2 separate regions of the Homo sapiens genome follow, and region 2 is linked to region 1. The links are contacts of gene promoters, found by promoter capture Hi-C in human tissues and cell types (Jung and others, 2019). All regions are on one chromosome and are shown on one strand. The core of a region is centred on a gene start or on the middle of the fragment in contact, and the rest is flanking DNA. Distances in the headings are between cores, read along the strand shown.

The links. Contacts are between HindIII fragments. The study calls those that stand out against the background at their distance.
Region 2: a fragment that was not itself captured here is called in contact with the fragment with the promoter of HHLA2 in region 1 in 1 of the 25 tissues and cell types used here (lymphoblastoid cells).

The regions. Positions count from the first base shown.
Region 1 is chr3:108,294,847-108,297,807 of GRCh38, forward strand. HHLA2 (HHLA2 member of B7 family) reads left to right here and starts at 1,702. Exons shown (of 10, transcript NM_001282556.2): 1 at 1,702-1,753. The HindIII fragment of the contact is 3,171 bases long and covers 1-2,485 here.
Region 2 is chr3:108,133,985-108,136,684 of GRCh38, forward strand. It overlaps LINC01215 (long intergenic non-protein coding RNA 1215), which reads left to right. Exons shown (of 2, transcript NR_110030.1): 2 at 2,330-2,700. Among named protein-coding and RNA genes, the nearest start is that of LINC01215, 10 kb to the left of the region's middle. RefSeq lists a silencer at 1-98 and an enhancer at 2,589-2,700. The HindIII fragment of the contact is 7,983 bases long and covers 1-2,700 here.

The DNA of each region.
Region 1 (2,961 bases), core at 452-2,951:
TTGATTTTGATTTCATTTCATAATAGATCTTATTAATGATAAAAGTTGGCGGCCGGGCGCGGTGGCTCACACCTGTAATCCCAGCACTTTGGGAGGCCGAGGCGGGCGGATCACGAGGTTAGGAGATTGAGACCATCCTGGCTAAACCAGGAACCCCAGCAAAACCCTATCTCTACTAAAAATACAAAAAAATTAGCCAGGCGTGGTGGCGGGCGCCTTTGGCACAGCACACAAATCCCCTGATCATATAATCATAGGGCCCTGTCTAGCTTTATAGCCTTTGGACATTACTGACCACATCAACTTTAACCTCCTGCCACACATGCACACTCAGGGGAGAGGGCAAGGTACATTTGGGGAACTCCCCCTCCTCTTCCCCATCTCTTCCTTGACTTCCTTCTTCTCTAGTCAGAGTCATCCATAGTGAGCCTTCTGCTGCCCACTGGAAACTGGGTTGAAAGTCCCAGCTACTCGGGAGGCTGAGGCAGGAGAATGGCGTGAACCTGGGAGACAGAGCTTGCAGTTAGCCGAGATCGTGCCACTGCACTCCAGCCTGGGCGACAGAAAGAGACTCTGTCTCAAAAAAAAAAAAAAAAAAAAAAACGAAAAACAAAAACAAACAAAAAAGAAAACGTTGGCGTGGGTGACTTTGGGGATTCTAGGAAGAGCCCTGGCGCTTTCAACCCAGTTTCCAGTGGGCAGCAGAAGGCTCACTATGGATGACTCTGACTAGAGAAGAAGGAAGTCAAGGAAGAGATGGGGAAGAGGAGGGGGAGTTCCCCAAATGTACTTTGCCCTCTCCCCTGAGTGTGCATGTGTGGCAGGAGGTTAACGTTGATGTGGTGAGTAATGCCGAAAGGCTATAAAGCTAGACAGGGCCCTATGATTATATGATCAGGGGATTTGTGTGCTGTGCCAAGGCTTGGATGGCATCCTTTGTTCCAGACAGAAGGGTCCTGTTTATTGTCCTCCTAAGGTAATTTTTGTTCACTTTGTAACTTTTGCTCCCATGCACTCAGCAAACAGATATTGACCAGCTACTATGTGCTAGTAAGTAAGTGGTAGTTGTTTGGGATACAATAGTGAGTAAAGCATGACTCTTAGCATCTGTTGTATGTGCATGCATGCCATGCATGTGACACTGAGGGAGAGAGAGATTAAATGATATGACAGCATAGAGGCTGGGCACTGCCCAACTTTCCATGTGGAATTCAGAGAGGTCTTTATTTCTCTGAAGTTGAGTTTAAGCTTGGGTGTTCTAGCGACCAGAACTGTAATGGGAATTGTAGGTGCAGATGAACTTTGTGTAGGGTTATGGTTCTTTCTCACAGAACTATTGGCACCCACTGCAACCAGCTACACAATTTTCTTTACAACTCTGCAGCAAGCTAGACAGGTCACAGGCAGTCCAACCTCAGGAGGTTGCCTGTATCATGTTGATGGTGAAGCTGACACCATAGCATGGAAACCAGAGTCCACTGCTCCCACAGCTCAATGCTTAGCTGTTTCAATATGTTGTCTGAAACTGCATCTTCTAATTCCTGGACTTTTCAGATCTGTACTGACTCAGATCTGGGTGGGGCTTAGTTTGAAGGAGGGAGTCCTTGGTGATGATGTGATTTCCTTGGTCTGTCATAGGTAGCAAATCAAACGTACCTTGGACTTTACTCTCTGAGAAACTCATAGCTGAATTCAATGTTTATTCTTATGGACTACTTAGCATTTGACTAGACGGTATGAATTTCTAAGTAAGGTAAGGATTTCTTTCTAAGTTGTTTATACCTAGAACTTAAAAGTGGGCATGAATAAATCAAATATGGGTGGTTTTTAGTTGACACTTTATTTTCCCGTTAGGAAAAAATTAGTGACTGATCTTTTAAATTGATTTAGTGCATATACTATGTATTGTGCATATGCACCAAACAAATACTTAGTAAAAGGTTGTCTTGAAGGAACATGCTGATATATTTCAAATAAAAGAACTTAGCAAAAATGAGGAAAATACCTAACATTCTGGTAAGACAGTGAAAGAGGGATGAGCAATGTTTGTTTTGAAAATTATCTGCGAACTTTAAAAAAATCTCTAAGAGTGTATTCTTACTTGTAATTGTTCATCTAGTTACACTACAGAGTTTTATTAGCTGCTCCAAGATGCACTGCGTTCCATTCTGTGGTGGAAACAAAAGGACCGTAGTAGTGGTTATCTAGCAGAAGAATCGTGATCTTTGAATTCTAATACAAGAAACTTAGAAGTCTCCTAGATATTTCCACTGTCTCAGGGAAGAATCATTAAGTTTATGTCATTTTTTAATAACTAAAACAAGATTCAAAAAGTTAAGATTCAATTCTCATTGGGTTTCTATTGTTTGGGACTTTGGATAATAGAAAAAAATATGAACAGGTAATTTAGGTTTTTTTGTGTTACTGGTACCTGACAAAACAAACTTGAGCTTCCCATTTCCTAGAAACTTGGAGGAAATAATTTCTGTCCAGAATGGCAAATTGGTGTCATATCCCATTATAAGCATATTTTAATCAAAAGATGCAATAAAGTGTAGTGGTCAAGATCATAGTCTCTAGAGTCAAGTAATCCTTGGTGCATTTACCTGCTTCATCATTAACCAGTTGTATATTTTTCTCAGAGCCAGTTTCCTAATCTGTAAAATGGGGGTAGACTAGTATTGCTGTGAAGATTAAATGAAATTTATTAAAGTGCTTAGCAAAGTGCCTGGTATGTAGAAAGTGTTTAATAAATATTATTATTTCAGAATATAGATGTAAAAGACAAATGATTTCCTATATAATCATATTGAGTAGCCTGAAAGTTTGGTGGCTCTTAAATAAATCCATGAATGAAGGCTCTGCCTACTTTTGGCGTGTGGCCCACCAGCATGTTCTATCAGTTGGCCTGAGCTGGGAAAGAAACCAATTCCTGTGTTGAGTTTTCCTCCAGGTGCTTAA
Region 2 (2,700 bases), core at 109-2,608, 160 kb before region 1:
GTAATAGTTTTCAGTATCACTTTAAGTGCTTTAGAATCACACTCAGCATTGGATGTAAATGGTTAAGGAGGGTAGCCTCGGTCTGCTACTGCCATAGATACCTTTAATATACAGAAATTACACAGAAAGTGTCATGGCATTCTTGTTTTACCCAGTGAGAAAATCCACTGTTCAAATCGAAACCAATATGGAAATTACTCCTTCCATCAAAAGGAGCAGAGGACGAAAACAAAAACAAAAACAAAAACAAAATCTCCTCAGCTCCACAGTGATGACATAGAAAGTTCAGATAAGAAAGAGAAAGAAGGCTTTGGGAAAACAAAAATAAGAAAGTATTTCAATGGCATTCCAAGTAAATAGTGGCTAGAGTTTTGGCTCAATGTACTAGCAACACAGTGATAAGGGCTCTTCTCAAAGTAAAGTGAACTTGGAGCAAGTGAATGAGGAAACACTGAAAACGGGTGGGCTGAGAAAAATGCACCCTCTCAGAGCATGCAGTGAAGGCTCAGCTGAATTAATACAAGGAAAGGAAATTTTACCCCAGACTATAGATCACTCGTTTAACCTTTCTCATGAGAGTCTTCTTCAGTTGTTAGTGAGGGGGAATTGTAGATTTATATTAGACCTGCATTGTAATATAACAGAGTTTAGCAATGCACTGTGGCTAAGACAGCTATATAACCAACTGGATGTAGTTCTTAGTGATACCACACTCAGTCATTTTCAGTTCTGCTTTCCTTTCGTTTTCCTTTTTTCCTTCTCATTTTCTCTCTTTCTATCATACATCAAGTTAAAGAATGTCTTTATATGCTGCCATAGACAAATATATATGAACCAGGTAGACCAAGAAACTAAGTAGTACACAAAGTGGCCAAACCCAGTAAAAGCCTATAACTTCTACACGTTTTACACATACACACACACACACCACACTCATTTAATTCCCTCAACACCTCTACTCTATAAAAATTTTATGCCTCCCCTTTTTTTGGTTTAGTAAACAAATTCAGGTAGGCTCAGTCATTTGACCAATGACAAACAACTAGAATATGGAGCATGAATTTGAAGCATCAGAGTCTGTACCCTTTTCTCTGAATATTTTGGGAGATAATTGGTACAAAGTAAATAAAAATCAATATTGTCATTATTGTCTACTTAGATAACAATGCAGTGTCTTCATTCATAATGGATTGCAGTTCCCCACTCAGGAAGAGGACATTTTTTTTAAAACTACATGATACAACTGAGAGCTTGGAAGCTATCCATGCATAAGTTTTAAAACCCAGCAGCTTCATGGTTTCCTCCTTCTGTTGGCCTGGCCAGTGGACACAGTGGTCACGTTCCTGGCATGGAGATGTCATTCATGGTAGGTGTTCTTGAATTGGAGCCTAAGGCTCCAGGACTTTTGTGGGTTCCTCCAGAATCCTACATCCTTATACACTCCCACGGGGTGCCTGCCCAGGTGAGTGGCATGCTTCATGGTATCCTTTCAGACTCTATCACTCCTACTTCTCCAACCCTGACTTACAATATGACCTGGGGAAGGATTAGAATGTTGGTATATTTTAATTTGCTCCTATGCCAAATCACAGTGCTTATATTTGCAACTCTGAGAATTGATGGGGACAATACATAGATTTAGAATTCACATGTGTGAGCACCATGAAGTACTTTGAACTTCACTAAATGGGGAAAATACAAGACACTACATTTAGAAATTGTTTAGGAGCAGCAAATGGAGAGAAGCAACATTTTTGCTTTAAAAAAAAACAACATCACAACCCCTTGATTATGTGCAGCACACAATTTAACAGGTGTGTGATTTATTCATTTATTCACAGACTCATGGACCAACCATTCCATCACAGCACTATTGTCTGTGAAGCAAAACACATTTACAGCAAACTGTATCAGCTCCTCAGAGAGACTGAATTAACCCATCTAAAAATCCTTTGCTTCCGATTGAAAAAGAGGGTTAATATCATCCAAATGATGAACATAAATAAACTTTACCTCAGTAAAGTTCTTTCCATCTTTGGATTTCTGGGTCATCTCTAACCAGTGCTTGATATGAAAGGGGGAAAAATAAAACTTGTGTATTATTTTTAGTGGATAAATGGAATATAATTGTTTCTCCATGTGTATCTAGAATTATGGCCTTCTTGGGGAAAGTACTACAGCCCCTCCCTTCCCTGCTCACTCATCTCTTTTCTTGGGAGAAAGATGGTTTTTCTGATTGGTGAGACTGGGGAAAACTTGATACCCACTCTGCCAGGTTTCTTTACCTGACAAAGTTAAGTGTTCATGAGTCATTTCTCTTTTTCTCTAGGTCTCTCAGACCCAAGTGTTACCAGTGAAGGGTGTCCAGGTTCTTGGCGCTTTGAACAAAGAATTGGACAAAACTCACAAACAAAGCAAGAAAAGAAAGAAGCAACAAAAGCAGAGATGTATTGAAAATGAAAACACACTCCACAGGGTGGGAGCAGGCCGAGCAAGCAGCTCAAGGGCCCAGTTACAGAACTTTCTGGGGTTTAAATACCCTTTAGAAGTTTCCATTGGTTACTTGGTGTACACCCTATGTATATGAAGTAGTGGCCTGTGATCAGTCTGATTGGTTGGAAGGGACCAATCAGAATGCAAACGTCTGATTAGTTGTGGAAAGTGACCAATTAGAGGCTGAAGTGAAGTTACAAAGTAATA